3 separate regions of the Homo sapiens genome follow, and regions 1 and 3 are each linked to region 2. Evidence: promoter capture Hi-C in 16 types of primary human blood cells and fetal thymus (Javierre and others, 2016). All regions are on one chromosome and are shown on one strand. The core of a region is centred on a gene start or on the middle of the fragment in contact, and the rest is flanking DNA. Distances in the headings are between cores, read along the strand shown. Region 1 has its middle 7.5 kb from the start of DAPP1. Region 2 holds the start of SMARCAD1 (SNF2 related chromatin remodeling ATPase with DExD box 1). Region 3 holds the start of TIGD2 (tigger transposable element derived 2).

Region 1 (4,685 bases), core at 232-2,731, 5.6 Mb after region 2:
CGTGGATAGCTTATTAGGTCACAAGGTACCATCTTTTCTTGGCACAGGCTTATGGCACTCGTTATTGCCCCAGGAGCCCACAGACCCGTCACCACATTACTTTTGGTCTGCAGGCTCTTCCACAGACTCGGGTGCTCTTCAACCTTTGCCGAACATCAGAATCACCTGGGGCAACTGTCCAAGATGCAGGCCCCAGGGCCCTGTGCCTTGGGGATTTTGAGGCTGGTGGTGCACAGCCTGTCCTGGGAGAAGCCCTGCTGCAGCCCTTAGCTTTCAGCTTCCAGTGTGTCACCTCCATGCTCCCCACCCTCCAGGGTCTTCTGAAGCCTTTATTTTTGCTCTGATGTGGCCCCCTTCAGGGCCAGGTTTATCCTTTTTGCTTCGGGTGGATTACTGGTTCAGTCACCTATCACACCATCCTGTCAGTACTCTCTTTTATAGTTCTCCTGCTCTCTTCACATTTTTTTTTTAACCACTCATAGTTCCTCATAATTTTGCTCTTCCTCCTGCTTCCATCCCCCACCTAACCTTCTGGATAAAATTCACTTTGTGTCTGGGCACAATGACGGATGCCTGTAATCCCAGCACTTTGAGAGACTGAGGCAGGAGGATCACTTAAGGCCAGGAGTTCAACACCAACCTGGACAACACAGTGAGACCCCCATCTCAAAAAAAATCATCTCTATAATGTCTCCTTTAGATAGACAGAACAAAAACATTTACATGTTAAGAGAAACTTCTCTTTACCACCCTTAAAATATTTAAAATACCAAAGATCTCATATTTATATGATTAACAGAGAAAACTCAGACCCATGGGCCACCCAGGAACAGTGACAAAATCTACTTCAAAGTTGTTGCTGTGGCTGAGTCACTGTCTCTGTAATCGGGGAGCTGTTCCCAAGCTGCCTTCACTGTAACGCTGAGAACCCTGAAGAATTTTCACTATTTCCAGTCACCGTTACTGTGACAGGGCTCTACGTTAGCAGTTTTAGAGTCACCTACATTCCTTATTTTAAATGAAAATTGAAATGCTTTGAAGATTTATATTTACCAAATGAGCTGAGGAAAAAGTAAGTGCTTAAAATATATTGCAATTGCAGAAATGAAAATCATTTTTAGGTATAAAATTGAATTTTTAGATTTCAATCACTTCCTACTCATTTAAATTCTTTCAGTAAAGGTCTCAAAGCTTTAAAGGGAAAAGAGAGCAGAACTAAGAATTGAACCATTTAAAACTTGGTGAGACAGGTAATAAATTATACCTGAATCATTTAATGGTTTAGTAGTCTGGCGTTTAAGGAATCTTCTACAAATGTGGTGTTGGGTAGTATCACCTGAATTCAGCTACTTTAATAAAGAACTATACTTTCATAGAGAGGAAGGAAAAAGCGATGGATCTAATCTTGACTTCAGGTAAAACAGCTCCCCCGCGCCCACCAACGCGGTATTACTGCCACCTAGTGATAGCATATCCTCATCACAGAGGTCCTGCCTGTGGAAGTGGAGGGGAAGAGGTGTAGTAAGCACAGCCAGTAGGGCGAATCCACAAATTAAATACACCCGGGGGTTGGGGGTGGCGAGGGGAGCGCTAGAGTAAGGCTATATTTTCTATAATGTCCATTCTCATTGCTTCCAGGGCTATTTTAAGAAATATTTATTTTGATGGGGTTTCAAAGTAAGTCATATGAGGACCTGTAAGCCACAGTTTTTACTCCCGCGGAGTTTGTTTTACGCAGGCTTCAAATGGACAAATAACATACATCTGAGGTTCAAGCTTTCTATTAATTTAATGCTGGCCTGGAAAACATTTTGTGATTTAAAAGAAAGCACCAAAGTTAGCTGTATTATTACTGGACTCAGCAAGGAAAGAATTGGGCTCAGTCAGAAGTGCCAGAATCCCTGTAACTAGGGGTGAAATCTCAGGCAAGTATCTTAATAGTTTCCAACCCCACTTGCCCAACCTGTTAAATAGGGGAACTGAAGTAGGTTCCCTCTAAGATGCTCTCCATGAAAAGCTCTAAGACTCCTCTTATTCATTTCTGAAGTCCTACCCCAAGGTAGACCAAACGTTCTGACATTTTGGCTGAGCTGCTCCATTCACACACATTATCATGAACGATTTCAAATTTTACCCATTTTCAAAAGCTGAATCTACCCTGGTGCTTCGTGGAAGCTAAGAATCTGGGAGATATCTCAGCTGGCCAGTTGGTCAAATTATCTTTGTTATTTGCCATTAGCTCCCGTTAGTTAACACAGCAATCTTTTCAGATGAAGTGTGGACAAGAAGACAAAAAGTATTTGGATAGGGCCCACAGGATCCAAAAGTGCGTAACCTTGTTTAATTTCATTTGGTTGAGTTAGCAGCTACTTTTGCAGACTTAAATGCAAAAATGCTGGTGTGTTTGAAGTTTCATTTTTGTCCAGGCTTTCATTACTCAGAAATCAGTGCTGACACAATTAAGCATGACCTTTCCATGCAGATGGTGCCTTGCTTCACCAGCACAAACAGCATCTGCCACACTCACCCACAAGTGCACATGTTTGCATATTTTTAAGACACTGCATCTAAAAATGGTAAAGTAAGTGCTGAAGTAAAGCCTTTGCGGAAGGGAGCATAATATCACTTAATCTGTTTGCATTACCTGTTAAGAAAGCCAGAGTGAAGTTCTAGGAAATTAGGAGACATGCAAAACACAGCACTCTTCTTAAACCACACATGTGCTCTCTTAACATTATTGGAATAATGTATTAACACTGCTCTATCTGAAGGCATGTTGATTTGCTGTGCTAAGAGGTGTTTGGTTAAATATAAATCATCCCCAGCTTCAGCAAGAAAGCCTAATATATATTATGTATGTGTGCAGGATAGCTTCAGCAACCCTGGGTATTTGTTTCTAAAAAGTCACATTATTTCAAAGTTAAAAGGGAACTTAAAAGTGACTTAGAATAACTTTCCTTCTAATATAAGAATCTTTTTTACCAGTGACATACAAAGGTGAGGGGGTGCTTGGGAGCACTTTAATCCCTGGTATAGTCAATAACAATAAAGAAACAGGCTGTGCGTTGTGGCTCATGCCTATAAACCTAACACTTTGGGAGCCTGAGGCGGGAGGATTGCTTCAACCCAGGAATTCAAGACCAGCCTGGAAAGAATGGCAAAATCGTGTCTCTACCAAAAAATACAAAAATAAGCCTGGTGTAGTGGTGCATGCTTGTAGTCCCAGCTATTCAGGAGGCTGAGGTGGGAGGATGGCTTGAGCTGAGGAGGCAGACATTGCAGTGAGGTGAGATCATGCCACTGCACTCCAGCCTGGGTGACAGAGCCAGACACTCTCTAAAAAAAAAAAAAAAAAAAAAAAAAAGAAAGAAAGGGAATAAAGAAACAATGATAATGATAAAACCAATGAGAAGTCATTCTGCTCTTTATTATCACCAGAAACCAGCAATTCTAACCAATGTCAATGACAGAATATACCTCTCAGCAGAGGCAAACCATTCCTCACTCCCTACCAAAAACTGAACATTTGTGTCCCACAAAATTCCTATGTAAAAGCCTAATCCCCAATGTGATGGTATTTGGAGGTGGAGCCTTTGGGAGGTGATTAAGTCATAAGGTCATAATTCTCATTAATGGGATTCATGTCTTATAAAAGAGGTCCCAGGGAACTTCCCAGCCCCTCCCACCATGTGAAGACACAGCAAGAAGACAGCCAGCATCTATGAACCATGAATCAGGCATTATCAGACCCCACATCTGCTGGTGCCTTGATCTTGGACTTCCTAGACTCCAGAAATGTGAGAAATAAATTTCTGTTTTGTGTAAGCTACCCAGTCTGTGGGATGGGGTGGGGAGAGTGACCCAGGACCCCTAGTGATGAAGGTGGGGAGAGTGACCCAGGACCCCTAGAAATGGGGTAAGGGAAGAGTAACCCAGGACCCCTAGGGATGGGGTGGGGAGAGTGACCCAGGACCCTAGGGATGGGGTGGGGAGAGTGACTCAGTACCCCTAGAAATGGGATGAGGTGACAGTGACCCAGGACCCCTAGGGATGGGGTGGGGAGAGTGACCCGGGACCCTTAGGGATGGGGTGGGGAGAGTGACCCACGTTATTCACAGTCATATGAATAAGAAATTCACTTCTGTGTTGAAGTGTTAAATTTTGGGTCTTTCTGAAGTAGCAATTTAGCATACCCTGATGAACACAGGAGAGAATGAGGCAGAGTGAAAAGAACCTTGAGTGAAAATGTTATGTGCTAGTTATTCATCAATTGGCTTCAGCTCCACTTCTGACCTCCTCTCCTCGCCTGGTATCATAGGGGACTGGAAGCCCACAAACTACATTTCACTAATTCCCTTGCCAGCTGTCTTCCAGAAAGAATTTGCTAACAGGAAGACTGGAGAAGGGTAGAAATCTGGGGTTTTTTTGTTTTTGTTTTTGTTTTTTTCTTCCTTAGGCAGTGCTTTCAGCACCATGAGCAGCCTTCAGCAATGGTGGGCAGCTGCATGCTCCAAAAGCCTCAGTCCCAGTTTTCAGCTGCATCAACAGAGTTGTGTCCTTCTGGTCCCACAGACCAGCAGTGGCAGCTAAATGTCTACAGTGGCTTCTCTTTTCTTAACTGGATAGTGACTGATGCACATAAATTCTCTTCCTGGTGCTGCTAATTTCTGACAATTTTCTTAACA
Region 2 (4,212 bases), core at 1,345-3,844:
GCTTTGATCTTGAGTTTTATTGGCCCAGACACCTGATTTTATAAATGTGCCCACATTTGATAAAACTGTGGGTATGTGTTGTAAATATACAATTCACAACACTGACTTATAAAACAAACTGGCAATTTAAGTTTACAATGGCTAATATATCTGGCAGAATGATCATTTGTAGCAATTCCTCTTTATGGGAAATGCCAACCAGAAGCTCAAATTATAACTCAGAAAATTGCTTGTCTAATGTTGGAACAAAGGGAGTATATCTTAGTTTTTTGTTTTTTTGAGACAGGGTCTTGCTCTGTCACCCAGGCCAGAGTGCAGTGGTGCAAACATGGCTCACTGCAGCCTCGACCTCCCAGGCTCAAGTGATCCTCCTGCCTCAGCCCCCAAAGTAGCTGGGACTACAGACGTGTGCCATCATGCCTGGATAACTTTGTATTTTTTTTAGAGATGGGGTCTCACTATGTTGCCCCAGCTCTGCCTTGGCCTCCCAAAGTGCTGGGATAACAGACGTGAGCCACTGCTCCTAGCCCAGGAGTATATATTCTTTGTTTTTTTGAGATGGAGTTGCCCAGGCTGGAGTGCAATGGCGTGATCTCGGCTCACTGCAAGCTCCGCCTCCCTGGTTCATGCCATTCTCCTGCCTCAGCCTCCCGAGTAGGTAGGACTACAGGCGCCCGCCACCACGCCCGGCTAATTTTTTGTATTTTTAGTTGAGACGGGGTTTCACCGTGTTGGCCAGGATGGTCTCGATCTCCTGACCTCATGATCCGCCCGCCTCCACCTCCCAAAGTGCTGGGATTACAGGCGTGAGCCACTGCGCCCGGCCAGGAGTATATATTCTTAAGCTAACATTTCCATCAAGATAGGTGAATTATATGCAAAAGAAAGGAAATCAGTGTATCGAAATGATATCTGCATTCTCATGTTTGTTGCAGCACTATTCACAACAGCCAAGATTTGGAAGCAACTTAAGTGTCCATTAACAGGTGAATGAATAAGAAAAATGTGGTGCATATACACAGTGGAGTATTATTTCGCCATTAAAAAAAATGAGATCCTGTCATTTGCAACATGGATGGAACTGGAGGTCATTATATTAAAGGAAATAAGGCAGGCACAGAAAAAAAACTTGGTATGTTCTCATTTATTATATTTGTGGGAGCTAAAAAATTAAAACAATTGAACGTATGAGAAACGGTAGAACGATGGCTACCAGAGGCTGGGAAGGGTAGTGTGGGGCGGGGGAGGACCCCGGTGGTCGGTGAGCATGGTTAATGGGTACGAAAATACAGTTTGAATGAATAAGATCTAGTATTTGATAGCACAATAGCATGACTACAGTCAACAACAATTTATTGTACTTTTTTTTTTGAGACAAGAGTCTTGCTTTGTTGCCCAGGGTGGAGTGCAGTGGAGTGATCTCGGCTAACTGCAACCTCCGCATCCCAGGTTCAAGCTATTCTCCTGCCTCAGCCTCCCGATTAGCTGAGATTACAGGCGCCCGCCACTACGCCCGGCTAATTTTTTGTATATTTAGCAGAGACGGAGTTTCACCATGTTGGCTAGGCTGGTCTCAAACTCCTGACCTTGTGATTCACCTGCCTCAGCCCCCCAAAGTGCTGGGATTACAGGCGTGAGCCACCACTCCCAGCTTATTGTACATTTTTAAATGACTAAAATAACTGGATTGTTTGAAACACAAAGGATAAATGCTTGTTATGGATACCCCACTTACCCTGATATGATTATTACACATTGCATGCCTGTATCAAAATATCTCATGTACCCTATAAATATGTACACCTACTATGTACCCGCAAACATTAAAAATTAAAATATTTTTAAAAAATTAATTAATTAATCAAATTCCATTCTAAGAACAATCAAGCCGAAAGTGAGGAATTACTTTAAATGCTTTGAAGCTCAGCATCCCGGGGTTCTTATCCGTCACTAATTACCTATACATTTGCAGGTCTCAGTTTCTTTGCTTTGTAAACATAGGCTTCTTGTAAGGATTGGGATTATACACTGAAAAAGCTTAGCACAGTATTATTACTATTATGCTATCTACATTATATTATAGGTGAAACACTACAGATTATAATACATACAATATATACTAATTGTATTATATATTGTTATTTTTTGTCATTATGCTATTTACTATTGTTCTATTTAATAACTCTCTAGATAATTTAACAGGACAAAGGTACAGAACAATCTGGCCCTTACAAGCCGGCGGAGACGGGTACGAATTACCATGACAACAGCGCGCGCCTCGACATTGTCGGCTCGCGCGTTGTTTGGGAAGAAAAAGCCTAGGCTGCGTGTTGCGTCATCATTACGCGCTCTTAAGGTTTCTCCGTGGTGTTTTGGAAGGTCCCGGCACGGCTACCGTCGCCCCACGCTAGGAAATTTTTTTTTTATTTTCAACCTTTGTTACATAGCACTGAGGCTACAAGATCGTAAGTACTGAGGGAAGAAAGAACAAGCGAGCGATTGAACGTTAAAAAGATGCCTTAGCATGCACTCCACCTCTGAACCTTCCTGTGTGTTCTTAATCCTATCAGCTTCCTCTCAGCTGGGATCGCGCCGCGTCAACTTCCGGGCGGATGCCCGCCAGCACGGCCTCCGCCGCTCCCCTTCTTTGGCCCCTTTGTGTCCCCGCAGTGTCGAGGCGCGGGCCCTGGCAGGTCCTTTCTCGAGGCAGGGGGCACGGTAGCACAGGGAGCTTCTCTTTGTGGGCGGGCGCGAGGCCCGCTAGGGGGTTATACTGGGGAACGTGCCTGCGCGTGCTTGGGTAAGAGGAGGTTGCATGAGGGTCAGCTCGTGGTTTCAGTAAGGAGGGGCGGGCGGGGGAGGCGGACGAAGGGGAGTGAAAAGCAATGGAAAATTTTAAAAGATACCCCCGTCCACCTTCTAATTGTTGCGGCCTAACAATGAAGCGCAGCCATAACAGTCCTGAGCCACTGGCATGTTTGCGGGCCCTTTATTGCCTTGGGAATAAACTGCTGTGGCATTGTATCGTATATTGTTTTCATGGCCTTTTTTCCTCTCTTTATTTTTCCCCTGCAGATAGTTCATTTAAAGCCCCCATCCCTGCAAGGTGGTGCTTTCTACCAATATGAATCTTTTCAACCTGGACCGTTTTCGCTTTGAGAAAAGGAATAAGATTGAGGAAGCGCCCGAAGCAACCCCTCAACCTTCCCAGCCTGGCCCTTCTTCACCAATTTCTCTTAGTGCTGAAGAGGAGAATGCTGAAGGGGAAGTTAGCAGGGCAAACACTCCTGATTCAGATATAACTGAAAAAACAGGTGAGTTACAATGTTAAAATTGATGTAACATCAAGGACAGTTTTTAAAAGATGAAAGGCAGAAGGGATTCTCATTTTTATTCTTGATGTCATATATATTGATGCATTGTCCTGCGGTGTGCCCTTTTAAATACAGCTTTGGGACTGCCATAAGCACCATGTACCCTCAACTGAGCATCCATCCATTGTCGCCTCACTTTTATATGAGTTCTTCGAATATGGCCCCATGGTGGAAGTTGAAATTAGAATTTAGGGCATCCATAGGTCAGAACGGTTGCTATTGGAAGAGCGATGTCAGTGATTCAGTCCTATGATAAACTTTGAGGCTATTTGGGCAGACATTTTCATTCATTCCAGTATTCCCTCAAAATATTGATCATCTACTGTGAGCTAGACATTGAGCAAGGTGCCTAAAGACAACCTCTGTACACAAGGGAAGATCAGATCACATCAAGTTCTTGCATCCACCTGACTTCCTGGATGTCCTCAGAATGCAAATGAGTAATTGGTATTCTTCATGGTGAATGAACATTTTTAACCTCATCAGCAGATTGTCAGAGACAAAAGTATTTGAGGATAAGCCAAAAATTAAGATTTCCACTCGAATCTATGTTCATTGAACAGTTAACTATTAGAGGAATATATTTGAGCTCTTGTTGTATTATAGGAATAGTGATAAGTGCTTCACCTTCTGTCATTTAATTTGCACAATAATCCTACAAGGTAGATATTACTGACATAGAGGTTAATGTGAAATGAGATTCAGAGAGGTTATTAGGAACTTGGTAGAGCCTGAACTCAAGTCCTGGCAGTATGATTCCTGAGCATAAACTAATTAGTTAGTTTCTTAGGAAAGGTGAAAGGAATGTTGGAAGTTATATTTTAATATTTATTTCAGT
Region 3 (4,350 bases), core at 755-3,254, 5.1 Mb before region 2:
ACACATACATACACATACATATATTCTTATTATATATATATGTGTGTATATATACATATTCTTAACATTCTAAGTCCTCTCCCCCTTGTGCTGTAATATGTCTGCCACAACTAGCCACCCCTTCCCCCAACAAAAGGAGAAAGTTTGCCCAATAAAACTGTTTTGTGTAAAGACACAATTGCCTTGAGTAAAATCTTAGTAAAAGTCTACTAAATACAATTGCCTTGAGTCAAGCGGTGTTTTGAGAAAATCTAGAAATGTGGGCTGTATCCAGATTTGAACTTACACAAGGTGATAAAAAGGGAACAGCTATAAGACATAAAACAGCAAACTGGAGAATCCAGGAGGAACAGAGAAAAATGCAAATGGTATCTGGAAGAAAATTAAATCCTAGAGATACTGTGGAAAAGAGAGGAAGAGTAAGAGGCAGGATTCCTTTGTATTTAAATATCCTGGGACACAGCTACTCCAGCAGACTCGGGGGAGAGGCGGAAAGGCAGGCGGCTGACATCTGGTTACAGGCTGCCTCATTTCCACATGGGTGGCAGTCGGTAAAGTGCTGTTCTAGCAGTCTTTCACGCTCTTCACAGGTATCAGGGAAAATAAGAATATTTTGTAAAGTTATATAAAACTACCATGAAGTAAGTTATAATGTACCCAAAACAGGCAACCAGGACTTCCAGAAAGGGACTGGCTTGTTGGAAGCCAAATGGAAGGCAGGGAAGAGGGGAGGTCTAAAAGCAGGTATTCTCCAAAAGCCACTTACAACCTCACAACATAACTAGATCAAAGAATTTCTGTCATGCCAGATAGTGGAAGGCTGCTATGTTGAGAAAGGCAATTGAGCAGTTTTGGCGGCGGAGTCAAACAGAAGGCTTAGAATCAACATCTGTTTTCTACAGTATGCTCGCTTTGATTTCCATCTCCAAGTTTCTGAAATTCCAGAAACAGTATATGGCCTTGTCAAAGAAATGACGAATTACTATGTTACTTTGTGTTAACGAAAAGGTTACATTTATGTTCATATGGAAGAGATAATTCACTGAAGAATTTCCAATTTTTCAAACTGACACGCACACACAAGACGGAAAGGAAGGCAGCCTGACCGCGTTTCCCAGGAAACAGGTGGTGCAAGGTGGAGGTGCACCACTCTCTCCTCCAGGAAGGCGGTGACCCTTCCGCAGATGTCTCCGTTGGAAACAAATAAAGGGAGTATCAGTCAAAGCGCAATTCCCCGATTCCACTTGAGAAGCCCCGGGCGTCGAGGCACGGCAGGAAATTTACCACGACGCCTCCCACTGGCTCAAGGGTCTCCCAGGTGCTGTCGATTTTGCAAAGGGTCCGTCTCTACAGCGACTGTGACGAGTTTCGGAGCATCAGCACCGGGGAGCGCTGACCCGACACTCGGCTCTACCGCAGCCCGCCGCGCCTCGGCACCCTGGGCTTGTCCGGCTGGGTGTTGCCGAGCGAACGCCCCAGCTCCTGCCCGGAACCCACGTCCGCCGGCTCCTACCGTGCCTCATGATCCTCGCTCGGGCTAGCACTTTCCACGCGCGCTGACTCTGGGCTCCGACACCTGGACCGCCTCCGCAAGGCGGCGCGGCTGCTGTTTGTAAACACGCCCCACGTGCGCTCGCCCTGCCCCATTCGCAGCCCGCTCCCGGCACGCGAGGATCCTCCGCTTTCCCCCCAGCACTGGGGGGGTGAGATTTTAAAATTTCCCCCTAGGGAGAAAAGAGCCTCGTCGGCAGAGCCGGGCCACTGGGAAAAGCGCCAGGACAAGGCGAGCGTGTGCCTCCCCCTGCCGGCCAGGGAGGCACTGCGGCCCCGAAACGGCCAGGCGGTGAGTGGAACCCACGCAGCGCCTAGAGACGCACCCCTGCCGGGCCCCCGCCCCTCCCGCCCGCTCGCCGGAGTCCCCTCCCCCGGGCCGCGTGCGCTCACCCGCGCAGGCCCCGCCCCCTCGCCGGCACAACGTTCTGCGGGGGCGCGCGCGTGCTCTCTAATCCCCCGCCTTCCGGCTCCGGCGGCGACGCTCGTCCCTCTCCGCTCGTCCCTCGCCGCTGCCGGGCCACCAGTGCCAGCCTGCCTCAGGAGACTCCATTTGCGCTTAGTGTGGTCTGGGCGCCGCGCAGGCGGTCCCAGGGCGATGCCCGGGGCCGGCGGACTGGCGTTCCCTGTGCCAAGCGGCCGCCCGCTGGCTGGCTGGCTGCAGCAGTGACATCCTGGTCGCCGGCGTCCAGGCGGAATCCGGGCTCCCTCCGCGGGAGGAAAGACGTCCCGCGCTCTGAAGCTCGCCCAGCGGGGAGAGGCCCTCGCTAACACGGCTTCTCCCTGACCTCTTAATTTCAGGAGGTAGGCTCTTCAGGTCCCTCTCTCTGTCACCCCAGATTATGCCTGAAAGCATTATTTGTCGTATTTAGCTATCACATTGATAGGAGGCGTTAATTTTCTCAACATAGTTGCAGGATAAATGTGGATAATGCCACAGATCCTGATGTTGAATTGAAAGAAAATGTTTTTGGTATTTTCCTTTAGGTTTCGGAGCCTCCGAGTATCTCTACAGCCCCCACAGGAACTGCTTCTGTTGGTCCATCGAGGATCGTCTTTCACCAGGATTATTGTAACATCATCTTCACCGAGCCTGCCACCCCATAGCCTCTACCTTGGGTCCTCATTTCCACCGATGCAGTTTTTTTGATGCTTTCTTTAGTAATGTGACATCACATGTCCACTATCCTCCTTTCCAGCTGCCAAATCTAGTAGGTTTAAGTCGCTTTTAAAGTAGAGTTTTCTGCCTGTTCCACTTTCACCTTATTTGCACTGTTCACTTCTGTCCGGGTCATCTTCTCTTGCGTATGATTTCCACAAGCACTCACTTGCGCAACCTATAGCAGAGTCCGTGCCTAGAGAGACAGCATTCCATACAATCCACTGCTTGACAAAGACCACATAGTCAGAGGGTGAGTTTTCCCATTGTATTTTCCTGTATGTCAAGTTTGCAAGTCCTCTCTTGACTTAAACTGTTTACTCCCTAGCACATTTCCTAAAATACTTCCACCTGAGATTTAGTGGCTATTCTGGCAAAGAACATTACCTGCAAGGATGGCAAGAATTGAGTATGCAATAGTACTGTTTTAGAAGCCTTACCAGTACAGTTTCTAGCCTCTAGTGTGATTGCACTTCATGAAAGACCCTGAACCCTGAGGAGGAAGAAAGATAGAAGATAAGAGTTAATTGGCGCTAGGCTTTGTTGTAGGAAGTTTGTAAGTTTTAAAATAGCAAGTAGATTCACGTAGACCTTGTCAGGAAATTGGTCACTATCCATCTAGGCCCTAGAAGTGAGAGGAGGAATCTTACGAACTCATTTTCTAGTTGCTTTGTATTCAAATCTTAGTTGTTAATTATCTTGTTCTAGTAATCACCTAAAATATTAGACACTTAAAATGTTGGGGAAACGTAAGCGTGTGGTGTTGACAATTAAGGACAAGCTTGACATTATTAAGAAACTTGAGGAAGGCATCTCTTTCAAAAAACTTTCCGTGGTGTACGGAATTGGTGAATCCACAGTTCGTGATATTAAAAAGAACAAAGAAAGGATTATAAACTATGCAAACAGTTCAGATCCTACCAGTGGAGTATCCAAACGTAAATCTATGAAGTCATCAACATACGAGGAGCTTGATAGAGTTATGATAGAGTGGTTTAACCAACAGAAAACAGATGGGATTCCAGTGTCCGGAACGATTTGTGCAAAACAAGCCAAGTTCTTTTTTGATGCTTTGGGAATGGAAGGTGATTTTAATGCATCGTCAGGCTGGCTAACTCGATTTAAGCAGCGCCATGGTATTCCAAAGGCTGCTGGTAAAGGAACAAAATTAAAAGGAGATGAAACTGCTGCCAGAGAATTTTGTGGTAGCTTTCAGGAATTTGTTGAAAAAGAGAATCTACAACCAGAGCAAATTTATGGTGCTGATCAAACTGGATTGTTTTGGAAATGTCTACCATCAAGGACATTAACTCTTGAAACTGACCAAAGTACTTCTGGGTGTAGGTCAAGCAGAGAGAGAATCATCATTATGTGTTGCGCAAATGCCACAGGTTTACACAAACTTAATCTTTGTGTTGTGGGGAAGGCCAAAAAGCCCCGAGCATTCAAAGGCACTGACCTTTCAAACCTTCCTGTGACATATTACAGTCAAAAAGGTGCATGGATAGAACAGTCTGTTTTCAGACAGTGGTTTGAAAAGTACTTTGTGCCACAGGTACAGAAGCATTTGAAATCCAAGGGACTTTTAGAAAAAGCAGTGCTTCTTTTAGATTTCCCCCCAGCACGTCCAAATGAAGAAA

Evidence for each region. Contacts are between HindIII fragments. The CHiCAGO score rates a contact against its expected background, and 5 or more counts as called.
Region 1: a fragment that was not itself captured here is called in contact with the fragment with the promoter of SMARCAD1 in region 2 in 1 of 17 cell types (total B cells); the score reaches 6.4 in total B cells.
Region 3: a contact is called between the fragment with the promoter of TIGD2 here and the fragment with the promoter of SMARCAD1 in region 2, in 6 of 17 cell types (naive B cells, non-activated CD4 T cells, total B cells and 3 more). The highest score is 20.5, in naive B cells.

Annotation. Positions count from the first base shown.
Region 1 is chr4:99,806,996-99,811,680 of GRCh38, forward strand. No RefSeq gene overlaps it. Among named protein-coding and RNA genes, the nearest start is that of DAPP1, 7.5 kb to the right of the region's middle. The HindIII fragment of the contact is 585 bases long and covers 1,190-1,774 here.
Region 2 is chr4:94,205,271-94,209,482 of GRCh38, forward strand. It overlaps SMARCAD1 (SNF2 related chromatin remodeling ATPase with DExD box 1), which reads left to right and starts at 2,595. Exons shown (of 24, transcript NM_020159.5): 1 at 2,595-2,800; 2 at 3,076-3,314. The coding sequence starts at 3,125. SMARCAD1-DT (SMARCAD1 divergent transcript) reads right to left here and starts at 2,286. Exons shown (of 9, transcript NR_125922.1): 1 at 2,260-2,286. RefSeq lists enhancers at 2,214-2,573, 2,672-3,175. The HindIII fragment of the contact is 2,630 bases long and covers 2,036-4,212 here.
Region 3 is chr4:89,109,529-89,113,878 of GRCh38, forward strand. TIGD2 (tigger transposable element derived 2) reads left to right here and starts at 2,005. Exons shown (of 2, transcript NM_145715.3): 1 at 2,005-2,355; 2 at 2,539-4,350. The coding sequence starts at 3,447. RefSeq lists enhancers at 1,513-1,622, 1,653-1,732 and a silencer at 1,813-2,262. The HindIII fragment of the contact is 10,355 bases long and covers 1-3,489 here.